6 separate regions of the Homo sapiens genome follow, and all the other regions are linked to region 3. The links are contacts of gene promoters, found by promoter capture Hi-C in blood cells and fetal thymus (Javierre and others, 2016). All regions are on one chromosome and are shown on one strand. Each heading gives the region's core, a stretch centred on a gene start or on the middle of the fragment in contact. The rest is flanking DNA. Distances are from core to core; before and after follow the strand shown. Region 1 overlaps MOV10L1 (Mov10 like RNA helicase 1). Region 2 overlaps MOV10L1 (Mov10 like RNA helicase 1). Region 3 holds the start of ALG12 (ALG12 alpha-1,6-mannosyltransferase). Region 4 overlaps TTLL8 (tubulin tyrosine ligase like 8). Region 5 overlaps MOV10L1 (Mov10 like RNA helicase 1). Region 6 holds the start of MOV10L1 (Mov10 like RNA helicase 1).

Region 1 (2,734 bases), core at 58-2,557, 220 kb after region 3:
AGAAAGTCTGATGGAGGCCGGGTGTGGTGACTCGTGCCGGTAATTCCAGCACTTTGGGAGGCTGAGATGGGAAAATCACTGAGAACAGCCTGGGCAACATGCAAGACCCTGTCTCTATTTTTAAAAAGTTTAAAAATTAGCTGGGCATGGTGGCACACACCTGTAGTCCCAGCTACTCAGGAGGCTGAGGCAAGAGGATCCCTTGAGCCTGGGAGGTTGAGGCTGCAGTGAGCTGTGATTGTACCACTACACTCCAGCCTGAGTGATGAAGTGAAACCCTGTCTCAAAAAAAAAAAATAGAAAAGAAAAAAAATCTGATGGAATCTAAAATGAAGCTGTTAGAACTAATAAGTGATTTTGCAAGATACAAGATCAGTGTAGAAAAATAAGTTGTATATATATTTCCAGTAAACACTCAGAAATTGTTTTTTGGTGTTTTGTTTGTTTGTTTTGAGACAGTCTCGCTCTGTTGCCCAGGCCGAGGTGCAGTGGCGGATCTCGGCTCACTGCAACCTCCGCCTCCCAGATTCAAGCAGTTCTCCTGCCTCGGCCTCCTGAGTAGCTGGGATTATAGGTGCGTGCCACCACACCCTGCTAATTTTTGTATTTTTAGTAGAGACAAGGTTTCACCATGTTGATCAGGCTGGTCTCAAACTCCTGACCTCATGATCCGCCCACCTCAGCCTCCCATAGTGCTGGGATTACAGGCGTGAGCCACCATGCCAGGCCTGAATTTTTTTTTTTTTTTAAGTAGCACCTAAATGTTTTAAACATTAGGGATACATCTGACAAAAGATGGGCAACAAAAGACGTAAATCAATGGAGGGAGATATTAGTATCTCTTGGGCCGGAAGATTCCATATTATCAAGTTACCTGTTTTACCTCACGTGGTCTGTAAATGCAGGGCACGCGCAAAACATGGACCTGGGTCCATAGCTCACAGCGCAGACAAAAACTAACTTACTCTGCGGTTTATAGCCGCAATGTCAAGCCTAAAACTATGCATCTAGGAAACAGCATAGAAGAACATCTGCACGTCCTCTGTTTGGGCAAGGATTTTTTTTTATGTGACACTAAGAGCATGACTTACAGAGAAATGGATAAATTGGACTTCAGTGAAATTAAATATTTTGCTGCTGAAAAGACATTGTTAGACAGTAAGGTACAATGGCATACACTTTTAGTCCCAGTGACCCAGGAGACTGAGGCTGGAGGATCTCTTGAGCCCAGGAGTTCCAGGCTAGCCTGGGCAACATAGAAAAACTCTGTCTCAAAAAAAAACAAAGAAAAAAAAAAGACACTGGTAAGACAATGAAAAGTGACAGACTAGAGAAAATATTTGCAAATCACATCTGATCAAGAACTTGTATTCGGAAAACATATGAAAGTACTCTACAAACTGCCTAAGAACTCAATTTTTTATAATGGATCAAACACTTGAACACTTTACCAGAGAATACATACAGATGGTAATAAACACATGAAAGATGTTCAACATCATTAGTTGTTAGGGAAACACAAGTTAAACCACAATGAGGTACCACTGAACACCTGCTAGAATGGCCAGAAATTGAGTTGGGCCATCTGCGCGTTGGTGAGCCCGTGGGGCCGCTGGCACGTACCCTGCTGTGGGAATGGGGAGTGGCACACCACTGTGCAAAAGGTGTTTTTAAGAAGCTGGACGCGCACCTGCCATACAACCCAGCCATTTCTCTCTAGAGAGATGAAGACATAAGGCCACGTGAGGACCCATACACAAAGTTCACAGCAGCTGGGTTTTTAATCACCAAAAACGAAACAACCCAGTGTCCGTGAGCAGGTGAATGGATAAGCAAGTTGCATTGTGTTCGTACAATGGAACATGACTCAGCAATACAAGGAGCAAACTGTTGACATGCAACAACACAGGTGGCTCTCCAATGAATCACACTGTGTGCATTTATATGAAGTATGAAGTTCGAGAGCATGTGAGCCAGCCAGTGCCACTGGAGGGGCTGCGGCACAAGGCGGCTCTGGGGACTGACAGGTCTATTTGTCATCTTGATTGTGCTGATGGTTTTATGGGTATGTGCACGTCAGACTTGTCAAGTCACACACTTTAAATATGTGCACCTTATTGTATGTCAGTCACACTCTGCAAAACACAATGGTTGTGGGAGGAGGTTATAGGCATAACCTTCTAGACCATGGGTGTCCAATCTTTTGGCTTCCCTAGGCCACGTTGCAAGAAGAATTGTCTTGGGCCACACATAAAATTCACTAACACTAATGATAGCTGATGAGCTGAAAAAAATATGTATCACAAAAAAATCTTATAGTGTTTTAAAAAGTTTACGAGTTTGTGTTGGGTTGCATTCAGAGCCATCCTAGGCTGTATATAGTCCATGGGCCGCTGGTTGGACAAGCCTGTTTTAGACTAAAACTTAGCAATGTGTGTAAATTTTTTAACGTGAAACTTTTTTTTTTTGAGACAGAGTCTTCCTCTGTCCTCCTAACTGCAGTGTAGTGTCGCAATCATGGCTCACTGCAACCTTGACCTCCTGGACTCTAGCAGTCCTTCCACCTCAGCCTCCTGAAGTGCTCAGATTATAGGTGTGAACCACTACCCCTGGCCCCAGAACTTTTGATTTTATAGATTCCAGAATCTATCCTATGAAAATAATGAAGTTATTTAACAAAGAATTACAGATCATAATGAAAAAAATTGAAAATCCCACTGGTTCAGGACAAATA
Region 2 (2,824 bases), core at 177-2,676, 240 kb after region 3:
CCTGACTTTGGCATATGCCAGCCTGTTCCTGCCACAGGGCAGTCACTGCCGCCTACCCTGAAATAAACCCTCGAGTGACCCCCAGAAGCCTTTCCACCTCGAGATGTGTGCCCGTGTCAGTGGTGACCAGGGTTTCATGTGGCCTCTCAGCCCTGCTGGCGCAGTTTTTGGAGATGGCTTGCTGTCCACTTCACCTGAACTAGCCGTGTGTCAGGCTCCAGGCAAGGCTGCCAGCTCCACTCAGCAGAGCGCCAGGGCCATGGACCAGGCATGCAGAGCCCACAGGGCCTGAGGCTCTACATGGGGCCAGGGTTGTGAGGGTGGCACTCAGGCCTGCCCTAGGCCCAGTGCTTCTGGGAGTTTGCAGCTGGGCGGGTTCCTGGGTGCAGGCCTGCACCCTAGGGGTACTGAGTTTAGGGGTCCTTAGAACACATCTCTGGGCCAGAAATAAAACACGTGGAGATGGGCAACGCACCTCAGGCCAGGAGGAGCAGAGCAGTGGCAGGAAGAACACTTGGGGTGAGCCCCGCACTGTCCTCAGCCTGGTGCAGGGTCTCAGTACAGCAGCCCGGCTGGAACACAGGACCCCCAGGCTCGGAGATGCCGCCTGCATACACCCAGGGCCCCAGAGGAGGCCAACACCGCTTTACGGGGGGTCTTACCTGGCCTATGCCCCCATCCCCACAGCGAGACACAGACCAGCAGCCGACTAGAAGGGTGCAGGCTTGGCCCACCTCAAAGTTTGGGAGCCTTGCCCTGCACCCTCCCCCACCCCCTCCCCCACGACTTGCTCCCAGGAAACAAATGCTCAGTGTCTCCACTTAGAGGTAGCGTCTGCTTGGCAAGCAGAAACCACTGTCTCCTGAAGGTCTCAAGACACCAGGGATCATGTCTGTTTACTAAACTTGTGGGTGATGCTAAGATCTGTGGTCACAACTCCAGGGAGTACTTGATGTAGGAGGAAGCACTTTCCAGACAGGCGGCGTCATGTCAGGGCCCAGGACTGCATGCGGCATCACCTGCTGTGGCTTCTGCATGAGTTGTGTTTAGGAACTGAAGGGTTTCTCCAGGCAGAGCTGTCATTGCTGTGCTAAGGGGTGCGTGGAGGCCCAGGCAGAGCCCCCATGCGTGGAGGCCGCTGTGCCCAGTGCTCCTGCAGCCAGCGTTTGCTGGACTCTCTCTGCAGAGCAGAAGTCCTAGGGCAAGGACCTCTCCATCCTGTCAACCCCAAATCGAAGGGATGCCCCCCACGGAGGCTGGGGACTTTTCTGACCCAGGTGAGGGGATCATTGGGGTCAGCCCTGACACTGAGAGGCCACCTCTCTGGGCTCAGTGACCTGGATGTCCTGGCAGGTGGGAGAGACGCAAGAAGCAGGTGTGGGGTCCACACTTGAGGGAGTGCTCTTGGGCAGAGACGTGGGGAGCCAGTGTTGAGGCTGGGCAGGTGTCCTCAGCTGGGGGACACCTCAGCAATGATCTGGCGTGTGCCCAGGGTGGCAGGAGACCAGGCGGGGTCATTCTATAAAGGACTCGGGGCACCTGTTTGCTGGTGCAAGAGTGGCAGGGAGGCTGTCAGGTGACAGGGAGGGAGGGGAAGAGAAGGAGGTCAGTGAGGAGGCTGCCCTGGAGGGGCCCAGGCTACAGGGAAGGCAGCACTGCTCAGCCAGCCATGAATCCCTGCAAAGCAAGGCAAGGGAAGCAAAGGCAAGTGGGGCCTGCAGGCAGGTGTCGTCTGCACAGGATTTGGGGCTTTTTTTAAGACAGGGTCTTGCTCTGTTGCCCAGGCTGGAGTGCAGTGGCACAATCATGGCTCACTGCGTCCTCAACCTCCCAGCCTCAGGTGATCCTCCCACCTCAGCCTCCCAAATAGCTGACACTACAGGTGTACGCCATCACACCTGGCTAATTTTCTGTAGAGACAGGGTTTCGCCATGTTGCCCAGGTTGGTCTCGATTTCCTGGGCTCAAGTGTTCCACCCACCTCAACCTCCCAAGTAGTTGAGATCACAGGCGTGTGCCACCACAGCTGGCTAATTTGTTTATTATTATTTGTAGAGACGGTCTTGCTATGTTGGCCAGGCTGCTACACAGAGGTCTTAAACTTTGGTGCTTGGAGTCCCCTAAATGAAACCTTAAGGGAGTGCATCTCTTCCCTCGTTTTTTTGGTTATCTAAGATTTTTCTTCTTCACATTTTAAACGTGCTTATGATGTAAGTCACAGCTTATTATAAATCTTGCCATTTCATTTATTTTTATTTTATTTTATTTTTTTTTTTATTTATTTTTTTTTTTTTTGAGACAGAGTCTTGCTCTGTCGCCCAGGCTGGAGTGCAGTGGTGCGATCTCGGCTCACTGCAAGCTCCACCTCCCGGGTTCACACCATTCTCCTGCCTCAGCCTCCCGAGTAGCTGGGACTACAGGCGCCTGCCACAACGCCCGGCTAATTTTTTGTATTTTTAGTAGAGACGGGGTTTCACCGTGTTAGCCAGGATGGTCTCCATCTCCTGACCTGGTGATCCACCTGCCTCGGCCTCCCAAAGTGCTGGGGTTACAGGCATGAGCCACCACGCCCGGCCCAAATCTTGCCATTTTCCTTTTCAGTGTATCCAGTGCAACAAAAAATGCCATTACAGTTTGATACCATCATCCACTTAGAGGACACCAGCAAGCTGTTCTTTCACAGCTAGAAAGTTTATTTCTTCTTTTCCTTGAACTCATATTTCTATTCCACTCCCCCCCATATTTGTATCCTAATGCAAAATGTGTTAGGTTTGAAAGGTGTGGGCATCACAAATATTTTCTGTTCCTCTCCTGGGCACAGAACG
Region 3 (2,742 bases), core at 162-2,661:
AGCACAGCTCACTTTCGAGGGCATGAGAAGACCAAGGGTGAGTCTGGATTCTCTGCCAGGAGCACGGGAAGACCAAGTCAACACCAGCAAGCACGAAAACCACGACGAACCCCCCACCAGGCGAGGGTGAACGGACACTGTCCTGCACTAGCCCACTCTGCTGGGCAGCTGGGCAGCAGCTGTGGCTAATCTAAGTGACGGGTGCTTCGAGAGCACCCACAGGTTAAAACGGGCCCAGGCCATGACACTTTAAAATGGTGGTTTACAGAACAATGGCATCTCAGATTAGGGAATGACCTGCAAAGACCCTCTTGTCCCCATCAATCCAGATTTTAAGGCCTCTACCGAAATTGATCAAATCAGGCTAAGCATGGTGGCTCACGCCTGTAACCCTAGCACTTTGGGAGGCTGAGGCAGGCAGATCGCTTGAGGTCAGGACTTCGAGACCAGCCTGGCCAACATGGTGAAACCCCGTCTCTACTAAAAATACAAAAATTAGCCGGACCTGGTGGTGGGTGCCTGTAATCCCAACTTAGGAGGCTGAGGCAGCAGAATCACAGGAACCTGGAAGGCGGAGCTTGCAGTGAGCTGAGATCGCGCCACTGCACTCCAGCCTGGGCGACAAAGTGAGACTCCGTCTCAAAAAAACAGAAAAGAAACTGGTCAAATCAGATGTTACTTTTTTTTTTTTTAAATGTGCAGTGTTATCTGCACTCCTTCCTTCCACAGGCAGGAGTTCTCTGAAATCCAGACGCTGCACGTTTTATTTCCCCTAATTTAAACCAGGGGTTCCTGAACATGAGCGAGTGTTCATCACCTCAAGCGCCTGTAGAAATGCAGATCCCCAGCCCCCAGAGACCCTAAGTGGACCCCAGATCCCCAGCCCCCAGGTGAAAAACCCATCCCCCAGGTGGGAGGTCCGGCCCCAGGTGAGGAGCCCGGCCCCAGGTGAGAGGTCCAGCCCCAGGTGAGAGGTCGGGCCCCCGGATGAGAGGTCCGGCCCCCGGGTGAGAGGTCTGGCCCCCAGGTGACAGGTCCAGCCCCAGGTGAGGAGCCCGGCCCCAAGTGAGGGGTGCAGCCCCAGGTAAGGAGCACGGGGCTGTGACGCGTGGACATGCGCGGTGAGGCCTCAGGAATCCAGCGCCAGCGCCAGCTCGGGTCGCGCCCTCGCCCGCCTCCTCCCTGGTCTCGCCGCGCGCCCGCCTGAAGGCCCCGGTCGCGGCAGCGCGCACTGACCTCCGCAGCTCCCGGCGGCGTCCTTCGAAGCGCGGCTGCCTGGGCCAGCCTCGGCAGGAAGCAGGACGGCGGAAACAGAACAGAGCCCGAATCTAAAGTCCTTGCCCAAATCTAAAGTGGCTACCGCAGCCCCGGCCGCTACGGCCGCAGAGACCCTCTGTGCCCTGAGTAAAGATGGCCGCCGCGGGCTGCGCGCGAGGGGCGGGGAGCGGGAGGCGGGGTCGGACCTGCACGCCCCGCCCCCGGACTCCTGGCGGCCGCTGATCCGGGGCCTTCCCATTGGTCACCTCTCGTGGCGAACTCGGATTGGGCCATATCAGGCCGGGGCGGGTCCCATCAACCAATAGCGGCGCGGGGCTGGCGGGTGGGGCGGGGCCTCGCCGGCGCCGTCAAGTAGCCTGGGGGACAGGCCGGCGCGGCTGGGAGCGGGTGGGCGGCCGGGAGGCCGGAGCAGCACGGCCGCAGGACCTGGAGCTCCGGCTGCGTCTTCCCGCAGCGCTACCCGCCATGCGCCTGCCGCGCCGGGCCGCGCTGGGGCTCCTGCCGCTTCTGCTGCTGCTGCCGCCCGCGCCGGAGGCCGCCAAGAAGCCGACGCCCTGCCACCGGTGCCGGGGGCTGGTGGACAAGTTTAACCAGGTGGGAAGGGGCCGGGCGGGGTCGTCAACCTTGGGCCCGGGGTCCCCCTCACCCTGCATCCGGGGTCGCCCCACCTTGGGCCCAGGGTCGCCCTCACCCTGGATCCGGGGTCCCCCTCACCCTGGATTCGGGATCCCCCTCACCGTCGATCCAGAGTCCCTCCACCGTGGTCCTGGAGTCCCCCTCACCCTTGACCCGGATCCACCCCCACCGTGGAACCAGGGTCGACGCCACCGTGGGCCTGGAGTCCCCTCACCCTCGACCTGGGCTCGCCCCCACCCTGGACCCGGGTCAGGTGGTACCAAGCACTATGGGCACTGTCTCCTCGCAGGGGATGGTGGACACCGCAAAGAAGAACTTTGGCGGCGGGAACACGGCTTGGGAGGAAAAGACGCTGTCCAAGTACGAGTCCAGGTGGGTGCCCTGGAGCACCCCTGTGGGTCTTGGCCTGGCGCTGTCCTGGGAAGTCGTGTCCTGCCTTTGGTGCCTGTGTTAATGACAGGGAGACAGAACAGCCCCCGAGGCACCAGTCACCCGTCCGAGTCACCTCGGCTTCTCCCTGAGGACTAATGGCTGGCCCCTCTCTGGCCTTCCAGCTTCTGCTCTGGTCCCTACCCCCTCAACAGACAGTGGCTTTTCAAAATGTAAACTGGAACACCAGCCCCACTTGTGGGAACCGCTCCTGGCTTCCCCTGACAGTGGGGTCCCCTTATTCTCTGTGCCCGGAGTCCTGGCTCCCCGGCCCCTGCACCCAGGTTGGCGTATTGGTTCGGATTTTTCTTCACTGCCTTGGAGGCGCTGACGGTGGGCCGGTGTGGGCCTGTGTTTCAGCGAGATTCGCCTGCTGGAGATCCTGGAGGGGCTGTGCGA
Region 4 (2,766 bases), core at 249-2,748, 130 kb after region 3:
ACTCTGTCATCCAGGCCGGAGTGCAGTGGGGCAATCTCAGCTCACTGCAACCTGTCTTCCAGGTTCAAGCAATTCTCCTGCCTCAGCCTCCCAAGTAGCTGGGATTACAGGTGCCTGCCACTAAGGAAGGAGACCACTACTACTCCTGCTGCCCTCCTCCCCCACCTTGCCTAGTTCACAAGACAGGAGGAGAGAAAGAGCAAAAAGTTGGGGGAAAAGAAAAGTAAGATAAATAGCCAGACAACCTTGGCACCACCACCCAGCCCTAGGAGTTAAAAAAAGTAATAATAATAACATCAACCCCTGACCTAAACTACTTGTGTTATCTGTAAATTCCAGACACTGCATGAAAAAAGCATTGTAAAACTTTCTGTTCTGTTAGCTGATGCATGCAGCCCCCAGTCACGTTTCCCATGCTTACTTGATGTATCACGACCCTTTCACGTGGACCCCTTAAAGTTGTAAGCCTTTAAAAAGGCCAAGAATTTCCTTTTCTGGGAGCTCAGTTCTTAAGACGCGAGTCTGCTGACACTCCCGGCCGAATGAAAACCTCTTCCTTCTTTAATCCGGTGTCTGAGGAGTTTTGTCTGTGGCTCATCCTGCTACACCACCAGGCCTGGCTAATGTTTGTATTTTTTAGTAGAGATGGGGTTTCATCATGTTGGCCAGGCTGGTCTTGAACTCCTGACCTCAGGCGATCTGCCCACCTTGGCCTCCCACAGTGCTGGGATTACAGGCGTGAGCCACCGCGCCCAGCCCCAATATGTAATCTTTTATCCCTCTCTCCCCTCCCAATCTTCCCCCAAGTCTCCAAACTCTATCTTATCATTCTTATGCCTTTGCATCCTCATAGCTTAGCTCCCTCTTATGAGAACAAGCGATATTTGGTTTTCCATTCCTGAGTTACTTCGCTTGGAAGAATGGCCTTCAGCTCCATCCAGGTTGCTGCAAAAGACATTATCTGGTTCCTTCTTATGGCTGAGCAGTATTCCGTGGTGCAGATACACCACAGTTTCTTTATCCGCTCGTTGGTTGATGGGCATTTTGATTGGTTCCATATTTTTGCAGTTGTGAACTGAGCTGCTGCAAACATGCGTGAGCAAGTATCTTTTTTGTATCATGACTTCTTATCATCTGGGTAGATGCCCAGGAGTACGGTTGCTGGATCAAATGGTAGATCTACTTTTAGTCCTTTAAGGAATGTCCACGCTGTTTTCCACAGTGGTTGCACTAGTTTATATTCCCACCAGCAGCGTAAAAGTGTTCCCTGTTCACCACTTCCACGCGGACCTCTATTACTTTTTCACTCTTTCATTATGGCCATTCTTGCAGGAGGAAGGTGGTATCACATTGTGGTTTTAATTCGCATTTCCCTGAGAATTAGTGATGCTGAGCGCTTTTTCACGTTTGTTGGCTGTTTGTATAGTATTTTAAGTCAAGGAATTGAAAAATAAGTTGATTATTTTTCTGTAAGAGGAGTTTTCAAAGCAGAAGGAGACAAACTGTGCTCTGGCAGGAAGACATCTGCTCAAAGAAGACCATGCCCACACCCAGGCACACAGCGGACGAAGCGGCACAATTACAGCTGTAGCTGGGAACCCTGAGTCTGAGTCCCAGCACCCATACGAGACATCCGGTCGGTCCCAGCACCTCTCTGGGAACCCCGAGTCTGAGTCCCAGCACCCACACGAGACATCTGGTTGGTCCCAGCACCGCTCTGGGCCGCTGTCTACTCCGATAATCAGTCTGAGGCCTGTCACCCGCCCACGTGGCTGTGCACGTGAATGAGCCTATCACCCGAGGCTTTGGGGAGAACGGTGGGGGAGCTGGACAGTCCGCAAGAGGGCTGGCACCCTCCGACTCCACAAGACACTCTGCCACCCCCAACACCCTGCTTAGCTGTGGTCAAACTGAGTAACTTTAGAAAAATGGATGGGCAGAATACAATTCCTAAGGAAACCACCAAAGGAATAAAAACAGCGTAAGATTTCCAACAGGTAAGAGAGGGGAAAGGGGGATTTAAAAAGTAACCAGTCCGGGAGAGCACATGAAAGGAGAGGAAAGGAAAATTGAACCAAAGGAACGTACTAAATGAATGAAGATAACAGACACACCTGAATACATCAACGGTTTAATTATAGATAAATACACTAAATGCTCCAGACAAAAGGCAAAGAGACCATCAAACACATAGGTATACAGATGATGGGGTAGAAAAGGAAAAGATAGAAATATGAGACAAAATAGTCTTTGGGACAAATAAACATTACTAAGGTAAAGAAAACCATTTCATAATTTTAAAAAGATTCAATTCACTAGAAAGATACATGTGTATGCACCTATTAAGAAGGCATTAGTTATAAAAAACAAAACTAGAACTACAAAGTAGACAAACCCAAGATTATAATAGGGTATTTTAACCTGCTTCTCTCAGTAATTGATAGAATGCACAGACCAATAAGTTCCATAAGACTTTAGAGGATTTGAACAACTCAAATAACAAACTCTACTCTAGTGGCTATAAACAGCTCACTCTGGCGGAGCACGGTGGGTCAAGTCAGTAATCCCAGCACTGTGGGAGGCCGAGGTGGGTGGATCACCTGAGGTCAGGAGTTCAAGACCAGCCTGGCCAACATGGTGAAACCCCGTCTCTACTAAAAATACAAAAATTAGCCGAGCATGGTGGTGCACACCTGTAGTCCCAGCTACTCAGGAGGCTGAGGCAGGAGAATCGCTTGAACCTGGAAGGCAAAGGTTGCAGTGAGC
Region 5 (2,848 bases), core at 125-2,624, 200 kb after region 3:
CTTTGCAGGGATAGGCCCAGGTGGAGTCCTGATGTCAAATATAGTAGGAAGAGCTTAGCTCATAGAATGTTAAAAACAGCTGTTTCCAAACTCCTGGTTCCAGGAGATTCTGGGGGTTCCAGCCCTGTTTTCCCACAGCCTGTGCAGCTACACTTACCTGTTTACAAATAGTAGAGCACTTGTGGGAACTGTTTGAGGAAAGGATCCCAGAGCTAAAACGAAAGCTTCAAACCACTGCCTTAGACCAGCTATTCATATATCAGTTCTTCTCAGGAAATGGATGGACTTTGGTCTTCCTAAAATAGGAAAGGATGTTTAGGTAAGAATGTCTAGTGATACCTGGTGATAAAGACTTATTTTTAACTTGTGAACTTAATTTTTTAAGGAACTCAAGACGACAACTTCCAAGTTTTCTTCCCCAATATCCAATCCCAGATAGACTTAGAAAATGTGTGGAACAAAAAATTGACATCCTGACTTTCCAGCCATTACTTGCAGAGGTAGGAAGTGTCTCATGGCCTGTGGGGTGTTGGCATCTTCTAATGCTCTTGTTTTCTGACAAAGCCAGGAGGTTCCTTCTCAGGTTCAGACCTTCATCTGGCTTGTTTTCTTCACAGGTAGCTGGGATAACGAGGGTCACTGCCTGGCCGTGAGGGATGAGGCACCATAGCACTCACGCTGCCAGACCTGCTGTACACCAGGGGCTGGCATCCCACAGCCTCACTGGGGGTCACGCACAGGGCCTTTGGGGTCTGGAGCAGAAGAACTGAGGGATACCTCTGCCATCAGCCTGGCCTCTCTCGCTAGACTAGGAGGCCTTTGTTATGAGCAAGAAGTGTTCTAGCCTTTTACCATCATCCTGACAGAGCCAGCAGGGCAAGGGTCCAGGGGAGGAGAGCCCAGGTCCCCACCCACATGGGAGACAGAGGAGCACGTTCTGAGTGGGGTAGGTGGAGAAGAAAAGTTCAAGAAGGAAGAAAAGTCTATAAATTTGGCAGTTTGAGGGGAGAACATTGCCCTTTGTCCAGGAGGGTTTTTTTCTGTAGGGGTTTGAGGTGTTCTGAGAGTCCCCAGCTAAACTGGAGTTCCAGTGCCAGAGCAGCTGGCAGCCCTGTCCTAAGGAGAATGAAGGGAATGGGACCTAGGTGTTCACCATGCGCCCTTCAGGGGATCCTTTCCAAATACACCTCCTTGTTTAAAAAAATGTCCTTGTTTTACCAGGAGGACAGCTGATGCCCCATGACCGGGGTTCCTCACGCAGGAAACTTATTCTGGCAGACGCCCCAGTGGCTCTCGTCTGACCTGTATCCAGGTTATGCCTGCCTGATCATCTGGCACTGGGAGCCCAAACTTATGTTCCCCAATGCCAGGGAAAACCCGGCCTGGGCAGTGCTGGGTTCTTAGGATGGAAGGTGCAAATTCAATCCACTGCCGTGATAGAAACAAGTTCAGATGTGTTTTACTCACAGATCCTGGGCAGGGAGGTTGCCATGAGTCGCGAGCGCAGTCCTCTGTCCCCCAGTCACTTTGAGTTTGTAGGCAAATGCCTGAATGGTTCATCGAGGTGGCAGAAAAAGCTGGACCTGGGTCTGCTAGGATGGAGAGGTGCTCCTCAGCTCCTCCCTGGGGACCCAGGTCTGCTGGGCTTGGAGGGTGCTCCTCAGTTCCTTCCACAGGCCACCGACTTGATGTTTTGATGCTGCAGCTTTGTAGTAAGTTTTGAAATCAGGAAATTTGAGTCCTCCAGCTTTGTTGTTCTTTGGCAGAATTTATTTTGCTTTTCAAGATCTTTTATACGAATTTTAAGATGCATTTTTCTATTTCTGCAAAATATAGCATTGGAATTTTTTTTCCCCAGAGACGAGGTCTCACTACATTGCCCAGGCTGGTCTCAAACTCCTGGCCTCAAGTATTCCTCCCGCCTCAGCCTCCCAAAGTGCTTGGGATTACAGGTGTGAGCCACTGCACCCGGCCTGTCATTGGAATTTTGATGGGAATTGCATTGAATCTGTAGATTGCGTTGGTTAGTATGGACATTTTAACAATATTGAATCCTCCAGGCTATGAACATGGAATGTGTTAACATTTATTTATGTCTTCTTTAATTTCTTACAGCAGTGTTTTGTCATTTTCTCTGTATATGTTTTTCACTTCTTTGGTTAAATTAATTTGTAAGTATTTTATTATTTTTGCTGCTGTTGTAAATACATTGCTCTCATAGCTGCCTTTTCAGATTCTTCAGTGTTGTTTAGAAATGAAGATAATTTTTGTCCTTTGATTTTGTACCCTGCTACTTTGCTGAATTTATTTATTCTAACAGTTTTTTGTGGAATCTTTTAGAGTTTTCTACATATAAAATTATGCATGCCATCTGCAAACAGATAATTTTATTTCTTCCTTTCCAATTTAGATGCCTTTCATTTCCTTTTCTTGCCTAATTGCTCTGGCTAGAACTTCTAGTACCATGATGAATAGCAGTGGTGAAAGCAGGCATCCTTCCCTTGGAAGTTCCTGATCTTATGGGAAAAGCTTTCAATCTTTCACCATTGAGTATGATGTTAACAGTGGGTTTTTCATATATGACTTTCATCATTTTGAGGTGATGGTTTTCTTTCTTTCTTTCTTTCTTTCTTTTTCTTCTTTTCCTTTTTCTCTTTTTTATTTATTTATTTATTTATTTATTTTTGAGACAGGCTCTCCTGTCGCCCAGGCTGGAGTGCAGTGGCGCAATCACAGCTCACAGCTGTGACTGCAGCGGCACACCACCATGCCCGGCTAACTTTTGTATATCATAGAGACAGGGTCTTACAATCCTCCCGCCTTGGCCTCCCAAAGTGTTGGAATTACA
Region 6 (2,700 bases), core at 91-2,590, 170 kb after region 3:
TACGTATTTTGTTTTTGTTTTTGTTTTGAGGCAGAGTCTTGCTCTGTCTCCCAGGCTGGAGTGTAGTGGTGTGATCTCAGCTCACTGCAACCTCCACCTCCTGGGTTCAAGTGATTCTTCTGCTTCAGCCTCCCAAGTAGTTGGGATTACAGGCATGCGCCACCATGCCTGGCTAATTTTTTTTGTATTTTTTTGTAGAGACAGGATTTTGGCAGGTTGACCAGGCTGGTCTCGAACTCCTGACCTCAAGTGATCTGCTCACCTTGGCCTCGCAAAGTGTAAAGATATTTTTAAAATAGAGAAAAATCAATGAAATCAAGGGATGATTTTTTTTAAAAACTCAATAAAATTGATAAATATAGACTGATCAAGGAAAATGAGAGGGATGAGATAAATTACCTATGTCAAGAATGAAAGATGGCTCATCATTATGGACCATACAGACGTTAAAAGGATAATAAGGAAATATGCTGAACAACTTTATGCCAATAATCTGACATCTAATAATTGGATGAAATGGACAAATTCCTTAAAAGAATTACCAAAGTTTATTCAATATTACCTTGATAACTTGAATAGCCCTCTAGCTGATGCAGAAGTGAATTTCTCATTAAAAACCTTCCCACAAAGAAATCTCGAAGCCCAAATGGGTTCCCCAGCGAATACTACCACAATTTTTAGGGAATAAGTTACCCCATCCTACTCCCAGGTCACTGCAGGCCCGGCTTAAACCGACCCCAAACCAGACAGACACAGAAAACGGGAGGTCGGCCACAGAGCAATCTGCTTCACCAGCACCGTCCCCAACCTTGGACAAAGCGTTACCAAGCTGAGTCAGGCAATACACCAAAAGGATAACGAATCGTGACCAAGTGAGTTTTCCAAGGAGAGCCAAACAATGTAATTCCCTATGGGCTGAAATAAAAAGCTACAGGATCATTTGAATACATGCAGAAAAGCGTTGCAGAAAATTTCACACCCACTCATAAGAACTCTTGGAAAAACAGGAATAGAGGGAACTTCCTCAACTTGATAAAAAACACCAACAAAAAACGACTCCTAACATCACTCTGGGTGGTGAAAGCGCACTTTTCCCTAATGTGTGGGCGGCAAGAAGGCGGACCCGCTCGAAGCTCCGCCCACCCACGCGAGGCCCCGCCCGCCCGCTCGAAGCCCCGCCCACCCGGCGGTCACACCGCCTTGCGCGCTCGGCATGACGTCACTCCCACCAGGCACCTCGCCTTGTCAGGAGCTGCCAGGCGCCAACCGCCGACCTCTGACCGCTACGGGTCCCGGCTCGCGCAACGACCCCAAGGCGCATGCCCAGGCGCGGCGACCCCATTGGTGGCGGGCGGCGGGAGCGGCGCGGGCGCGTGCGGGCGGCGGCAGCGGCGGTGACGGCAGCCTAGGCCGGGCGAGGGCCATGCTGAGCCTCGCAGCCAAGCTGGTGGCCTTCTTCTGGAGGACGGCGGACACCCCTAGGGAGGAAGCCGGGCAGCTGGAGCCCGAGCTCGCGGAAGGTGGCTCGCGGGAGGCGGCTGGGAGGCGGGTCCCGGGCCCTCGCGTGTCGGCCACGAGGGAGCCGCGCCCATAGGTCTTTGAGTGCAGTGCGGGCCGGCAGGCAACGCTGGGCCCGGCCTTTCCTCATCTCCGCTGGCGGGGATCCCCGTTCGCCTCAGGAGGCTTCCGACCCCACAGCATCCCGCCGCTCTGGGCGCCCGTCCTCTGTGAGGTCTCTCCGGTGACACCAGCCCCTCTTCCCGCCCTCACTTTGTGTGTTTACGCCGAGCAGCTGCCAAGTCGTCTCTCCATGTCGTTCCTCCCTGTCCGCAGCGTCATTGGCGGTGGTGTGTCTAGAAAGCCCCGAAAAACGCGGCCCCGCAGACTTGGCCTGTCCTTTCAGAACGCGCTGCGCCAAGGCGTGCCATTTCCTTGTCTGGTTTTCAAGCCCATCTTTCTAAAGCCCGGGATGCGCCCGGATGCCCTCACCGTTCCTTTCTCCTGAGGTGTTTGTGTGTGTGTGTGTGTGAGACGGAGTTTCGCTCTTGTTGCCCAGGCTGGAGTGCAGTGGCGCAATCTCGGCTCACCGCAACCTCCGCCTTCTGGGTTCAAGTGATTCTCCTGCCTCAGCCTCCCGAGCAGCGGGGATTATAGGCACCCGCCACCACGCCCGGCTAATTTTTGTATTTTTAGTCGAGGGGGGGTTCGCCATGTTGGTCAGGCTGGTCTCGAACTCCTGATCTCAGGTGACCCACCCACCTTGGCCTCCCAAAGTGCTGGGATTACAGGCTTGAGCCACCACGCCCGACCTCTCCCGAGGTTCTGATGGCTTCTCCCGATGTTTCCTTATGTGGGAATGGAATCCACAGTAGTGGGTCCCTAATTGCCTTCTGTGAGAAAAGACAGGAACAGGCTTCAGGAGGGGAGCTTCCTGCTGCAGGCAGCGTGTTCAGGGCCTCTGGATCCACGAGGGCCGATGCCCGGGGGGCCGGCTGTGTTACCTGGAGCACTTGCTCCGTGGATCTCTTCGGTAGAACACGCGCTCAGCGGTAGCTGGAGCTCCAGCTCTTGGCAGCGCTCAGATCCTATGCCTGTACTGTAACCGTCGCCCCAGGTTCCTCCCGTGGCTGGGAAGCTGCAGTAAAGGCACGTTCAGGACTCAGGACCGTGGCTGCAGCAGTGGCCAGACGGCTGAGGGCG

The links. The method cuts DNA at HindIII sites, captures the fragments that hold promoters and counts their contacts. A CHiCAGO score of 5 or more calls a contact.
Region 1: a contact is called between a fragment that was not itself captured here and the fragment with the promoter of ALG12 in region 3, in 8 of 17 cell types (M1 macrophages, neutrophils, erythroblasts and 5 more). The highest score is 10.3, in M1 macrophages.
Region 2: a fragment that was not itself captured here is called in contact with the fragment with the promoter of ALG12 in region 3 in 7 of 17 cell types (endothelial precursors, monocytes, erythroblasts and 4 more); the score reaches 8.1 in endothelial precursors.
Region 4: a fragment that was not itself captured here is called in contact with the fragment with the promoter of ALG12 in region 3 in 7 of 17 cell types (M0 macrophages, endothelial precursors, erythroblasts and 4 more); the score reaches 11.9 in M0 macrophages.
Region 5: a contact is called between a fragment that was not itself captured here and the fragment with the promoter of ALG12 in region 3, in 3 of 17 cell types (M1 macrophages, endothelial precursors and erythroblasts). The highest score is 8.4, in M1 macrophages.
Region 6: a contact is called between the fragment with the promoter of MOV10L1 here and the fragment with the promoter of ALG12 in region 3, in 6 of 17 cell types (M1 macrophages, erythroblasts, M0 macrophages and 3 more). The highest score is 12.5, in M1 macrophages.

Annotation. Positions count from the first base shown.
Region 1 is chr22:50,138,273-50,141,006 of GRCh38, forward strand. The region is part of intron 15 of MOV10L1 (Mov10 like RNA helicase 1); the gene reads left to right. Among named protein-coding and RNA genes, the nearest start is that of PANX2, 31 kb to the right of the region's middle. RefSeq lists a silencer at 1,606-1,790. The HindIII fragment of the contact is 7,627 bases long and covers 1-2,734 here.
Region 2 is chr22:50,161,604-50,164,427 of GRCh38, forward strand. It overlaps MOV10L1 (Mov10 like RNA helicase 1), which reads left to right. Exons shown (of 27, transcript NM_018995.3): 27 at 1-84. Among named protein-coding and RNA genes, the nearest start is that of PANX2, 7.7 kb to the right of the region's middle. The HindIII fragment of the contact is 4,494 bases long and covers 1-2,824 here.
Region 3 is chr22:49,917,027-49,919,768 of GRCh38, forward strand. It overlaps ALG12 (ALG12 alpha-1,6-mannosyltransferase), which reads right to left and starts at 1,412. Exons shown (of 10, transcript NM_024105.4): 1 at 1,237-1,412. It overlaps CRELD2 (CRELD disulfide isomerase 2), which reads left to right and starts at 1,608. Exons shown (of 10, transcript NM_024324.5): 1 at 1,608-1,872; 2 at 2,204-2,286; 3 at 2,704-2,742. The coding sequence starts at 1,744. RefSeq lists silencers at 1,002-1,201, 1,312-1,811. The HindIII fragment of the contact is 6,188 bases long and covers 1-2,742 here.
Region 4 is chr22:50,050,404-50,053,169 of GRCh38, forward strand. The region is part of intron 3 of TTLL8 (tubulin tyrosine ligase like 8); the gene reads right to left. Among named protein-coding and RNA genes, the nearest start is that of TTLL8, 6.5 kb to the right of the region's middle. The HindIII fragment of the contact is 3,160 bases long and covers 1-2,766 here.
Region 5 is chr22:50,120,117-50,122,964 of GRCh38, forward strand. It overlaps MOV10L1 (Mov10 like RNA helicase 1), which reads left to right. Exons shown (of 27, transcript NM_018995.3): 10 at 386-500. Among named protein-coding and RNA genes, the nearest start is that of MOV10L1, 32 kb to the left of the region's middle. The HindIII fragment of the contact is 2,305 bases long and covers 223-2,527 here.
Region 6 is chr22:50,088,666-50,091,365 of GRCh38, forward strand. It overlaps MOV10L1 (Mov10 like RNA helicase 1), which reads left to right and starts at 1,341. Exons shown (of 27, transcript NM_018995.3): 1 at 1,341-1,520. The coding sequence starts at 1,424. The HindIII fragment of the contact is 7,134 bases long and covers 1-2,700 here.